2 separate regions of the Homo sapiens genome follow, and region 2 is linked to region 1. Evidence: promoter capture Hi-C in human tissues and cell types (Jung and others, 2019). All regions are on one chromosome and are shown on one strand. Each heading gives the region's core, a stretch centred on a gene start or on the middle of the fragment in contact. The rest is flanking DNA. Distances are from core to core; before and after follow the strand shown.

Region 1 (6,734 bases), core at 2,909-5,408:
GCAGGCAGATCACCTGAGATCGGAAGTTCGAGACCAGCCTGACCAACATGGAGAAACCCTGTCTCTACTAAAAATACAAAATCAGCTGGGCGTGGTGGCGCATGCCTGTAATCCCAGCTACTTGGGAGGCTGAGGCAGGAGAATCGTTTGAACCCCGGAGGCGGAGGTTGCAGTGAGCTGAGATTGCACCATTGCACTCCAGCCTGGGCAACAAAGAGTGAAACTCCGTCTCAAAAATAATAATAATAATAATAACAATCGATTGTGCCTGCATTACGAAGCCTCTGTAAAAATCCCTCAACCACAGCGTTTGAAGAGCTTCTAGACTGCTGAACCATGGAGGTACCTGGAGTGGGCATGGAAGGTCTGCGCCCCCATCCTTTGCCCTGGGTACCATCTCATCTGGCTGTTTATCTGTAACCTTTGTCACATTCTTTATAATGAGCCAGTACATGTGAGTGTTTCCTTCTATGAGCCATCCTAGTAAATTAATGGAACCCTCATTTATAGCCATTTGGTTAGAAGTACAGATGACAACTGCTACTTTTGACTGGCATCTGAGGTGGGGGACAGTCTTGTGGGACTGAGCCTTTGACCTATGGGATCTGATTCTAACTCCAGTCATTAGCTAGTATCAGAATTGAATTGTAGGACAACCAGTTAGTGTCTGCTGGATAGTTGCTTAGTGTGTAAGGAAAAACCTCCACACATCTGCTGTCAGAAGCATTGTGTTGAGGACGGGCATGGTGGCTCACACCTATAATCCCAGCACTTTGGGAGGCCAAAGCGGGAGGATCGCTTGAGCCTAGGCGTTCGAGACCAGCCTGGGCAACAAAGTGGGACCCCACCTCTAAGGAAAAAAAAAAAAAGAAAAAGCCGAGCATAGTGGTGCGTGCTTGTGGTCCCAGCAGCTACTTGGGAGGCTGAGGCAGGAGGATCACTTGAGCCTGGAAGCTGAGGCTGCAGCAAGCTATGACTGTGCCACTTCACTCTAGCCTGGGCAACAGAGTTAGACTCTGTCTCAAAAAAAAAAAAATGTGTTGAGTGTGAGAAGAGTAAAAGCAGTCAGTTTGGTTTTTCCTATCTCAAACAGACATATAGAAATTGTGTCTATGTTAGTCTGGTCTCTTTTGGTTGCAAGTGACAGAAACCCAACTTGAACCAGTTTATTAATTAAAATAATTTTTTTTTTGTACAGACGGATTTTTTTTTTTTGTACAGATGGATGTTGCTATGTTGTGTAGGCTGGTCTGAAACTCCTGGCCTCAAGCAATTCTCCCACCTTGGCCTCCCAAAGTGCTGGGATTACAGGCATGAGCCACCATGCAGGTCCAAACTAGTTGAAATTAAAAAGATGGTTGAAGTCGGGTGCAGTAATATGTATAATCCCAGCACTTTGGGAGGCTGAGGCAGGCAGATGGCTTGAGCTCAGGAGTTTGAGACCAGCCTGGGCAACATGGCAAAACTCCGTCTCTATAAAAAGTACAAAAATTAGCTGAGCGTGGTGGCACATGCCTGTAATCTCAGCTATGAGGGAGGCTGAGGTGGGAGGATTGTTTGAGCCCAGGAGGCAGAGGTTGCAGCAAGCTGAGATTGCGCCACTGCACTCCAGCCTGGGTGACAGAGTAAGACCCTGTCTCAAAAAAATAAAAAATTTAAAAGACAGTTGATTGGAAGGATGCTGGAGGAGCTGTAAGAATAAGTGCAGCTCCAGGGAACTCAGATCCTGGGACCAGGGATTTGATGTCCCCAGCACTTTCTTTGCATTTCTCTAGGTAATGGCTTCATCTTCTCAGTCTTTCCCATGTAGTGAATGCTGTAGGCTGCCCTGGAGTCTCACTTTACAATAACCTGACCACACTTCAACAGCAAAATCCCAGGGAAGGACTATCATTGGCTTTGCTTGGCTCACATGCCCATCCTGGACCCATCACTGAGGCCAGAGGGATGGGGTAAGATTGGTCCAGTTTGGACCATCTGCCCATCCTGTGGTGAGGGATGGGGTATGTTACCAGAAGGGAGAGGGGAGGTAGACAGACAAAGACAATAGCCACCACAATGACCATAATCCCGGCAGTCAGGCAAATGCACTCAGGAGGGAAAGCAAAGCAGGTGGGGTGTTCACGGCAGCTCAGAGCCCAGGGTCCAGAGACACGGAGACCTGGGTTTAGTCCTGGTCTCCTCAGTGGTGTAAACTTTGAGGAGTTTCTTAATCCCGTATGCCTCATGTTGTTCATCTTGCCAAAGACAAAACAGACAGCTCTAATCTCAGCTAATCAACCATGAGACAAAGAATGAGAAGCTGAAAAGTCTGTCCTTGGCCTTGCCGGCAGACTCAGGCAGAAGGGAAAAGGTCTGCATTTGTCCTTGTCACAGGTAAACAAGGGGGTCATCCGTGCATCATATGGGAGGCATGAGAAAGACAGGACTGTGGGTCTGATGAAGTCATATGTGGAAGGGTAGTTCTTTCTGATAAGCTACTTCCCAGAACACAAAAGTGTGGAGGATTTTAGAAAACAAAAGGTTTGGGGGTGCGTGGGTGAGATTTCTTAACTGTGGCTGTTTTCTAAGAGCACACAGCTCAGGTTAATTACAACATTGTCAATCAGTAAAATGCTGAAAATATTATTCATCTCATAGATGTGGTGTGAGAATTAAAAACTTTTTTTTTTTTGAGACAGAGTCTCACTCTGTTGCCCAGGCTGGAGTACAGTGGCGTGATCTCGGCTCACTGAAACCTCCATCTTCCGGGTTCAAGGATTCTCCTGCCTCAGCTTCCCGAGTGGCTGGGACTACAGGCACATGCCAATACGCCCAGCTAATTTTTGTATTTTTAGTAGAGACAGGTTTCACCATGTTGGCCAGGCTGGTCTGAAACTTGTGACCTTAGGTGATCCATCTGCCTTGGCCTCCCAAGTGCTGGGATTACAGGTGTGAGCCACCGTGCCGGGCCTGGTGTGAGAACTAAAGAAAACAATCTATATGATTCACTTAGCACAATGCTGGGCACACATATAGGCTGCACGTTTTGCAAACAAAAATACAGAACAATATAACATCCTACATGCACAATAAAATGAAGCAGTTTTTGGGATTTACTTACACTAAAACATTATCTAAAATTTACATTTAACTGTGTGTTCTATATTTTGTCTGGCATCTCCCGGCATACAGTTGTGTTGACGATAAATATTATGGCCATGGATTGAAGATTTATTTTCAATCCATATTACCTGGACAGAAGATAGGGCTCTCTTCTACTAAATACAGCTTTTTTTCTTTTGGAAGACAATCCACTGGCAGGGTTGGGGACTGGGGAAGTGGTGGCCACAGCCCATCTTAGGGCTTCTTCAAAGGCGAGCTGACCTACCTTCTCCGTGCCCCATTCCCTGTCTCTGGCCCTGGTAGCCTCCTCCTTCTTGGAAGCATGGAGGTGGAAACACTGAGGTGGCAACGAGAGACTCCCACGGAATCTCAACGCCTGGAGGGGAGGGATTTTCTATCCATGGCCATCTCTTCACCCTCCAGCACAAAGTTGGGTGACTAGCAAGTGCTCATTCAGTGCTGATGAACTTCAGTTCAAAAGCATCAGGTGCAAAGAGAGGGAAGACGTGTGCTCCTGATTTATTTTTAATAGCCCACATTTGACATGGAAAACAAAAAGTTTCTCTGAAATCCTTGGAAACCGCTGCAGTGGGGCGGGACCCTGGTCCCCGGAGCTTTAATGCACATCTTGGGCGTCACTTTTGGTTCTAAGGTGGCCCCAGGTCCCTCCTTTAAGATGGGAATAACCATGCCTGACTCTTTCCCCACGGACACCACACTGTCCTAGTTTGTGTTCTCTACGCGACCACGAGCTCCTTGAGACAAGGGGTTGAGCCTGCTCCGGCTCATCCCGAGAGCCGGCGCAGCGACTGGCGCAACGAAAGGGAAATGAACGAATGAATGAACGAACGAAAGTGGAGTGGTGGAGAGGACCACAGAAGACGCGGTCATCCAGCGCGTGAACCTTCACCACTGCTGGGCTGTGGACCCTCACTTCCGCCGCCAGGAAGTTTCGGGGTCGCCCACCTTCCCTCCCAGGCTGCTCCGCGTCGGCGGCGCCCCGCGCGATTGGCTGCGCCGCCCCCACGTGACGCCGGGGTGGCGGCGGCGGTTGCCCGGGTGACGGCTGCGGAGGTGGCGGCCGGGCTGGGATAGCGCGAGTGTCCGCGGCCGAGCAGCAGGTAAGCGCGTCCCCGGATGCAGCCGGGCCACCCTCCGCCCGCCGTCCTGGTGCTGGGAGGAGCAGCGGTGCGTTTGGAGGGCCGAGGCTCTGCGGACCTCTTGTTCCGAGGAAAAACCCGACGCGCCCGCTCCGCCGCCGCCGGATGCTACCACTTCTCGCCTGCGGTCCAGGGATCTTTCTTCGGCAAGGGCCGAGGCGGCCGCCTGGACATCCCAAGAAAGGACAGGCCCAGCTGCTTCCCGCAAGTAGTCCCTGATCTTTGCTGCAGTGGGCCATACTTGGAGGGGGTCCCTCAAGCCATCCAGCTGGTGGTGGCGGCGCGAGCGGGTTATCCGGGATTTAGATCCCCCTGATAATCTCCATCTGCTAGCCGCGTTCCTGAGGCACCCAGTTGAAGTCCAGACTTCACCTAATCTTAGGAAAAACAGGATGCGTGCTATGCAGATTCGGCTTCCATACAAATCCCATAATCCCACCCGTTTGTGGGCCCTAAATCTTTCTTATATAGGAATTCAAAAGCTGCCGCTGCAATCCCCAAATGTAACTGGAAAAGTTTTTCTTAGTTTCCGCATAAAGGAGAGCACTGGTTCTCAAACTTGAGAGTGTGTAAAAGTCACTCAGGGAGCTTGTTTAAAAGGCAGATTTCTGGGCATGGTGCCTGCCACGGTGTTCAGTAAGACCAGGGTGGAGGCAGGAATTTTCATTTGCACAAGCGTGCCAGCTGATTCTGATTTAGGTGGTCCAGACTTTGGGAAATACTGTGTAGTGGTTCTTTTCAGCCGCTTAGTCACTTACTGTGGCTGTTGGGAGTGTGTCAGACTTCCTGGGCCTCAAATTGCCTCATCTGGAATGGGAAAATATAAACTATATTCACCTGTCAGGTTTACTATGAAGGTTAAATGTAAAACATTTTGCACATTGCCTGGCATACCATATACCTTCAATAAATGATACCTATTATGATATAAAAGTTTAGAGAAAATTCTGTAATTTCTTTTTCTTTTCCTTTTTTTGAGACGGAGTCTTTCCCTGTCGCTCAGGCTGGAGTGGAGTGGCATGATCTCGGCTCACTGCAACCTCCACCTCCTGGGTTCAAGCGATTCTCTTGCCTCAGCCTCCCTGGTAGCTGGGATTACAGGTGCAGACGCCACCACGCCCGGCTAATTTTTGTATTTTTAGTAGAGATGGGGTTCCACCATGTTGATCAGGCTGGTCTCGAACTCCTGACCTCAGGTGATCCGCCTGCCTCAGCCTCCCAAAGTGTTGGGATTACAGGTGTGAGCCACTGTGCCTGGCCAATTCTGTAATTTCTAAGAATGTTGAGTAATAGGATACCCAGCAGCACTCACATTCAATGACAGTTGATCACAGCAGATACTATTTAAACGGCTTAGGGAGGTCTACTCTAAGGAGGTGATGTTTATTAGGCACAGTGGTTAACCAGGTGAAGAGAGGGAAGAGTGTTCTAGGCGGAGAGAGTAATATGCGCAAAGGCCTTGAGGTTGGCCTCAAGGTTTCAAATTCTCAGAAACTCACTTTTCCCGTTCCAGGGCCTTTAAAATGACATCCCCTCAGCTCCGGCTTCATTTATTCATTATATGCCTTGAGTACCTTTCTTGCTTACTAGACACTCTGTTAGGTTCTGGGGATATGAAGTTGAAATACAGCTCCCTGTCTTTGTGAACAGGGTTATAAGAAGTGCCAGGTGCAGTGGCTCATGCCTGTAATCCCTGCACTTTGGGTGGGTGAATCGCTTGAGGTCAGGAGTTCAAGACCAGCCTGGCCAACCTGGTGAAACCCTGTCTCTACTAAAAATACAAAAATTAGCTGGGCGTTGGTGGCGGACGCCTGTAATCCCATATACTTGGGAGGCTGAGGCAGGAGAATCACTTGAACCTGGGAGGCAGAGGTTGCAGTGAGCCAGATTGCACCTTTGCACTCCAGCCTGGGCGGCAAAAGTGAAACTCCATCTCAAAACAACAAAATTAGCTGGGCGTCATGGCGCATGCCTATAACCCCAGCTACTTGGGAGGCTGAGGTGGGAGAATCACTTGAACCCAGGAGGTGGAGGTTGCAGTGAGCCGAGATCCCGCCACTGCACTCCAGCCTGGGCAACAGAGCTAAACTCCATCTCAGAAAAAGAAAAAAAAAAAAAAGCCTTGGTAGGGAAAGAAGGGAGGGGTTTTTCATGGAAGACTTCTTGAAAAGAGATTAAATCTGGCTTGGCTTAGAATCATGAGTCATGTTTGCCTGGGGGGGCAGAGCATACATCAACCACAGGCTTAGGATCCTGGAAGAGCTTGTTGCATGGGGGAATGGCCAGGAGTTCGCTGTTGGCAGGGTCCAGTGTGGGATTGGTGGAAGGGAGCAAGGAGAGGGATCAGGTAGGGGGAGGTGGATGGATTGGAGGCATGGTCCAGAAAAAGGCTGGAGAGGTGGGTGTCCCCCAGGAGCAGCTGCCTTTCTTCTCTCCCCTTTTGCATCTGGCAGGGCTGGTGTGGTGCAT
Region 2 (6,734 bases), core at 2,706-5,205, 75 kb after region 1:
CGGTCTCATTTACTCCAAGCCCCGCCCCCACCCTCCCCCCCTATTTGTTTTGGCCTCCTGGTAGAAACTTTTCTCAGATGTCTGCTAGTCCTTGGTGATCTCCTAATGAGAGATTTGGAGTGAAGGGGACCACAAAGCCATTGAGTGTGATGGTGGGGCCTGTCGATGGATAGTTCCACCCAGGGGGATCTGGGTGGGCCGTTTGCTGGGAACCTCTGATTTCACGGTCTCTAATTCTTTCCCCGTGGGCTGGTCATTTCACTGTGAGAATAGTCTTCTAATCTCAGGCCTAGAGGGCAAAGGTCTGGTTGCCAGGGTCCTGGGAGCCAAGTTTTGGGGTGGCCCTCTGTTCCACATTCATTCTGCATTTAGACACTAACCCCCCTCTCCATTTTGTTCTAGAACCCCGGCAAGCCTTGCTCTCCTCTGCCTGGTGTCCCAGATCCACAGACCCTTTGTGTCTCCCTCACAAGGGAACACCCTCTCCCCAGCCCTGTGCTGAGAGGTGTGCAGGAGTCACATGAGTGGGATCCAAGTGCTTCTTGAACAACTTTAATTCATTCGTCTTTATTTTTCTTCAGCTCTTAAGTGCTTTGAGGAGTGAGTAATGGAAATTGGGTAATTCCACAGTGCCCGTTGCTGCCTTGAGATTTGGCCTTCTTGAGCCTGCTAAGCCTCTTGCCATGCTGCAGTCCCACTTCCAGAATTGTGGCGTTATCGTTTCTCGTGCTGTTCTCTCTGTCCTTGGGAATTATCTTTTTTAACAGTCCATTTATTGTAGTTTTACTGTGGCTTAGAGGGAGCCAAATTAGTCATGTGTCTTGGATCTGCCATTCTAACCTGGAAAACAGCCGCAACGGTAACAGCAAACAGGACTGCTTCCCTCGCGCCAGTCACTGTTCTGAGGGCTTCGTGTAATTAATTCATTTAATTTGGAAGTCTGACTAACTTATTTTTGCCAAGTCTCATCAAATTTCAGTTGGAAAACAAGGATTCCAGATGAAATGTTTGGCTTTAGTCTGTTTATTTCACCTCTAATAAATTCAGGCAGAGGAAGAGAACTACCAGACCCGAAGAGGAGGCGTGTGTTTATCTCTCCGTGTTCTTAACCTTGTTTTTCCTCTTGACGTTTTCCCCCAGAGGAGTGTGCTTCAGTTGCTGCACTCCACGAGCGACGTGGTGCGGCAGTACATGGCCAGGCTCATCAATGCTTTTGCGTCACTGGCAGAAGGTGAGACATCAGCTTTGCTTCAAAGATAAGAGCTAGGTCATATTGATGTGCTTTTTCCTTTGAAAATGAGCGTTCCTCCCAAGTTTCTTAGAGATGACGCTTCCTCAGTTTGTTACCGTTTAATTCATCTAAGGTCTTTTGTGAAAATTAATTGTTGTCATATTGCTTTAGTTTATATCAGAGCACATTTGGACAGTTTTTGGGGTTTATTTTGTAAACCTCCCGGTTTTATTTTATAAAGCTTTCTGGTTTTGTAACATAGTAACATTTTATATTGCTTTCAAGTATATCACAGGTAATGAATGCATCTTCTATAATTTTCTACTTAAGGCAAAATAAGTGAAACAATTACGGCAAAATAAGCTTAGCGAAACAAAGCAGACTCCAATAAACACTGCACCATTTCCTTCAGAAGACTATGACCTCTTAAATCAAAGGATTTGAAAACTCTGAAAATAACATGCCCCCATAACTGAATTTAAAATGATTTTGCAAAGTGCCATTATCTTCCGTAAGTTCTTATTTATTTGAGCTCTTTATAATGTGAATAAAGGGAGTTTTCAAATTATGAATATATGATACTCCAAAACTTTGTTCATTTGTTCATTCGTTCTTCCATCCATTTGGCAGACATTTATGATAAGCCAGGATGTGTTACTGAGGACCATTCATATAATAATACTGTTGAAACTTATGTCTGAAATTAACATCTTCCATATCCATTCAGAAGTCCACAACAGGCTAGGGACCATTCTGGGCTTATTACAGGGTCCCAGGTGTGGCTTCCTGCTTCTTCTCCAGGCCTTGTACAGAGAGTGTGTATGGAAGCATTCCTTGGCTGCCTCTGTTGTGAAGACTTAAGGGCTCATAACACACACATTACCCCTCATTTCTCTTTGTAGATCTGACTGTTGGGTTCAGGATTTCATGGAAAAAAAAGGACAATGCTCCCCACAAGAACACAGCAATGAATTATGTTTAGCTCACAAGAAGAGTGGTTTTTCTAGTCACCAGATATTTCATTGAATAAAACCAACGTTTAACGTTTAGAAGAAATATCTTTTAATAAGTTTTAATAAGTTTTGTGGGGGTTTTGTGTGTGTGTGTGTGTTTGGTTTTTTTTTTTTTTTTTTTTTTTGAGAGAGTCTCACTTTGTCAACCAGACTGGAGTACAGTGGCATGATCTCGGCTCACTGTAGCCTCAACCACCTGGGCTCAAGGAATACTCCTCGCGCCTCAGCCCCCCAATTAGCGGGATCAACAGGTGTGCATCATCATACCTGGCTAATGTTCCTTAGTTTTTATAGAGATGAGGTTACGCCCTGTTGCCCAGGCTGGTCTCCAACGCCTCGGCTCAAACAGTCTACCTGCCTCAGCCTCCCAAAGTGCTAGGGTTACAGGCGTGAGCCACCTTGCACAACCAGTAAGTGTTTGTTTGTTTGTTTGTTTGTTTGTTTGTTTTGAGATGGAGTCTCGCTCCGTCATTCAGGCTAGAGTGTGGTGGCACGATCTCAGGCTCACTGCAACCTGCCTCCTGGGGTCTAGCAATTCTCCTGCCTCAGCCTCCCGAGTAGCTGGGATTACAGGCATCTGCCACCACACCCAGCTAATTTTTGTATTTTTAATAGAGACGGGGTTTCACCATGTTGGCCAGGCTGGTCTCAAACTCCTGGCCTCAGGTGATCTGCCTGCCTTGGCTTCCCAAACTGCTAGGATTACAGGCGTGAGCCACCGCGCCCTGCCCAGTAAGTTTTTTAGAACATAAAATTACCCAAACTCTACTGTGTTATATGCAAAGTAAGTTTTCGTGGAAAGTGGTTTTGTAGCATACCAGATAAATTATTTCTGTCTTTCACCTGTTTCATCTCTGGTGTATTATCAGGTCGCCTCTACCTTGCCCAGAACACAAAGGTGCTGCAGATGCTGGAGGGAAGGCTGAAGGAGGAGGACAAGGATATCATCACCAGGGAGAATGTTCTTGGGGCCCTGCAGAAGTTCAGTCTCAGGTAACGACTGTGCAATAGGTCACGGTGTCTCCTGTGAGATCAGATTGAGTTAAAATTCCCATGGCAACCCAGGAGGCAGATGGTATTTTTCCACTACACTTTGGAGAGGTTGGATGACTTTCTAAGACAGAGCTAGAAAGCTTATCTGTAATCCACTAAACTATCCTGCGCAAGGCTGCTGGGGATGGAGGAAGACATTTTCAAAGCATCATTGGATTTTCCTAATGGACATTATCGAGTGCCAGCCATGCAGGATTGTGTCTCAGGGCATGTGCAGGGCTTAGAGACAGACACATGAATCAGACCTGATAGAGCCTCAGCCCTCAAGTTACTTCCAGTCCCCTGTGGGAGCTGCACACATGAATGCACATCCCAGCAGAGTGTCAAGGGCAGTTCTGTGGAAGTCAGGGTTAGGGCCTCCTGACCTTGTCCATGATCCCAGCAGCCCACCCCATGGGATCAGCCTAGACCGTCATGACTTGGAACCAATGGGGCCAGGCTAATTTCTGTATTTCTAGTAGAGACAGGATTTTACCATGTTGGCCAGTCTGGTCTCGAACTCCTGACCTCAGGTGATCCGCCCACCTCAGCCCCCCAAAGTGCTGGAATTACAGGCGTGAGTCACCGCACCCGGCCCCGTAGGTTCCTTTTTAGTTTACAGTTTTGTTGAGATGTATTTACACACCATAATATTCCCCCATATTAAGCATACAATTGAAGGATTTTTAGTGTATTTACAGAGTTGTGCAGTCATCACCACAATCCAGGTTTAGCACATTTCCATCACCACAAAAAGAAACCTCATACCCATTTACAGTCACTCCTCATTCCTACCCCCAGTCCCCGGTAGCCACAAATCTGCTTTCTGTCGATTGACTTGTACTGGACGTTTCATATAAATGGAATCATGTAGTGTGCACTCTTTTGTGACTGGCTTCTCTCACTTAGCATCGCGTTTGCAAGGTTTGTCCATGTAGCAGCATGTGTCAGGGCCTCATTCCTTTTGTGGCTGAATATGTACTCCATTATGGCTACATCATATTGTTTGTTTGTTTTTGAGATGGAGTCTCACTCTGTCACCCAGACTGGAGTGCAGTGGCGCAATCTTGGCTCACTGCAACCTCCGCCTCCCGGGTTCAACCAATTCTCCTGCCTCAAACTCCTGGGTAGCTGGGATTACAGGCGCACACCACCACACCCGGCTAATTTTTGTATTTTTAGTAGAGATGGGGTTTCACCATGCTGGTGAGTCTGGTCTCGAACTCCTAACCTTGTGATCCACCCGCCTCGGCCTCCCAAAGTGCTGGGATTACAGGTGTGAGCCACCGCGCCCGGCCTACACCACATTTTGTTTGTCCTTCAGTTGATTGGCATTTGAGTTGTTTGCATTTTTGGCCAATATGCATAATGCTGCCATGAATGCTTCAGCACAAGTCTTCGTGTGGACATATGTTTCTTTTTCTCGTGGATCGGCATCTAGGAGAGGAACTGTTGGGACATATGGTAATTTTTTCAGAGTTTTTATTCTCTCATGATCACCTCAAGTTCTCTTTGACTTTCTTGAGAACTCTAGTCCCTGGAGTCTTCAACTTTTTTCTGTCGGTCCTCTTCTGAACACACTTTCTTCCCATCAAATGTGGTTTACATTTGACTGACTCACAAATAACCAGAAGCCTACAAAGTGAAATGGTCTAAGCATGTGTGTTTTTAGTGGGGGAAGGGATAGGTATTTGTATCTACCATTTGCCAGCTCCCTGCCAATGAAAATTCTTTGTTCTAACTATATGAATCGAAAAGAACTGTAAGTGCTGCAGAGTCATTACTTCCTCAGAGCATACAAACACTTCATTTCTTTTTGTTTATAGAGAGAACTTTGCTCCATGTTGATCGCTTTGGGGAAGTTTTTAGAAATTCAATAACTATAGTTAAGTAACAGATACAAGATATGGTGAAAAAAATACTTCCTCCTGGTAATGCAAATGTTTACTGCCTGTTTATCTTTTCCTCTAAGTGTTAATTTAAGCTTTTTTGTTCTGTAAATGTGCTTAACCTTTTTGCAGTTTTCCAGAGTCTCTGCAATAAATGAAGAAGGTAGCTAGTTACCAAGAGAGCGCAGTCTTCACTGTATTCTAATAAGCCACCCTGATTGGGTCAGTGTAGTGTTTAAGAACAGGATGAACGGATAACTGGTTCTGCTGTTCTGTCCTGAGTGGTGGTTTCACCATAACCTGCGCATCCGGAGATGTGCAGAGCTGGCTTCTCTGTGGCATGTCAGTTTTCTACTAATCCAGATGGCATCTCATAATGATACCACACTTAGTCTCAGCAATTCTTAAAGCTAACCTGATGACATTCACCATCACACATTTTGATGGGGTATTGGATTTTGTAAGATTCTACACCTGGACTTTGGGTGGAAAATCATTCCTTATAATTTGCATTAACCAGGTCATTAAACTACCCTTACTCTATAGAAATGTGAATCAAAGTGATGTTAAGCTAGGCTTTTGCTCCTCCTTGTTTTCTTTATTTTTATACAGCTCAGAGTGCCTAGAGCTGGATTATAGAGCGTTTAGGTAAAAATCTATTTGTCAGCTGGGCACGGTGGCTCACGCCTGTAATCCCAGCACTTTGGAAGGTTGAGGCAGGCAGATCAGCTGAGGTTGGGAGTTCGAGACCAGCCTGGCCAACATGAAGAAACCCTAGCTCTACTAAAAATACAAAATTAGCTGGGTGTGGTGGCGCATGCCTGTAATCCCAGCTACTTGGGAGGCTGAGGCAAGAGAATCACTTGAACCCAGGAGGCGGAGGTTGCGGTGAGCCGAGATCGTGCCATTGCACTCCAGCCTGGGCAATAAGAGCAAAACTCCGTCTCAGGAAAAAAAAACAAAAAACCTATTTGTCAAAGAAGTATTTCTATGGTCCTGTTTCCTGGGTTAAGTAAACCAAAAGCTACAAATAAATATTTATTAGATATTTGAAGCAATGCTCTGCTAATTTTAAATATTGAAAAGGAAACTTTCAAAGTAGGAGGCCTCCTTACCACCTTATCTTTATTTAAACCCTTAATAAATATCCCTGAAATGTAAAGAATTTTTGTTATTTCAATTGTATGGGTTTAACAAAAATATTCCTCAGAGTCTATGTCTTCTGTAAGTTTGTCTTTTCTGATATGCATTCACATTACTGTTTCTTCTTTTTTTTTTTTTTGAGACAGAGTCTTGCTCCATCGCCCAGGCTGGAGTGCAGTGGTACGATCTCGGCTCACTGCAACCTCTGCCTCCCGGGTTCAAGCAATTCTCGTGCCTCAGCCTCCCAAGTAGCTGGGATTACAGGCGCCGTCACCACGCCTGGCTAATTTTTGTATTTTTAGTAGAGACGGGGTTTCACCATGTTGGCCAGGCTTGTCTCCAACTCCTGACCTCAGGTGATCCGTCCGCCTTGGCCTCCCAAAGTGCTGGGATTACAGGCATGAGCCACTGCTTCCAGCCTACTGT

What was found. The method cuts DNA at HindIII sites, captures the fragments that hold promoters and counts their contacts. A contact is called where the count stands out against the background at its distance.
Region 2: a contact is called between a fragment that was not itself captured here and the fragment with the promoter of ARMC9 in region 1, in 2 of the 25 tissues and cell types used here (IMR-90 fibroblasts and adrenal gland).

Annotation. Positions count from the first base shown.
Region 1 is chr2:231,194,473-231,201,206 of GRCh38, forward strand. It overlaps ARMC9 (armadillo repeat containing 9), which reads left to right and starts at 4,159. Exons shown (of 25, transcript NM_001352754.2): 1 at 4,159-4,226. RefSeq lists a silencer at 3,965-4,304. The HindIII fragment of the contact is 14,859 bases long and covers 1-6,734 here.
Region 2 is chr2:231,269,842-231,276,575 of GRCh38, forward strand. It overlaps ARMC9 (armadillo repeat containing 9), which reads left to right. Exons shown (of 25, transcript NM_001352754.2): 13 at 1,141-1,231; 14 at 3,114-3,237. Among named protein-coding and RNA genes, the nearest start is that of ARMC9, 75 kb to the left of the region's middle. The HindIII fragment of the contact is 4,844 bases long and covers 1,534-6,377 here.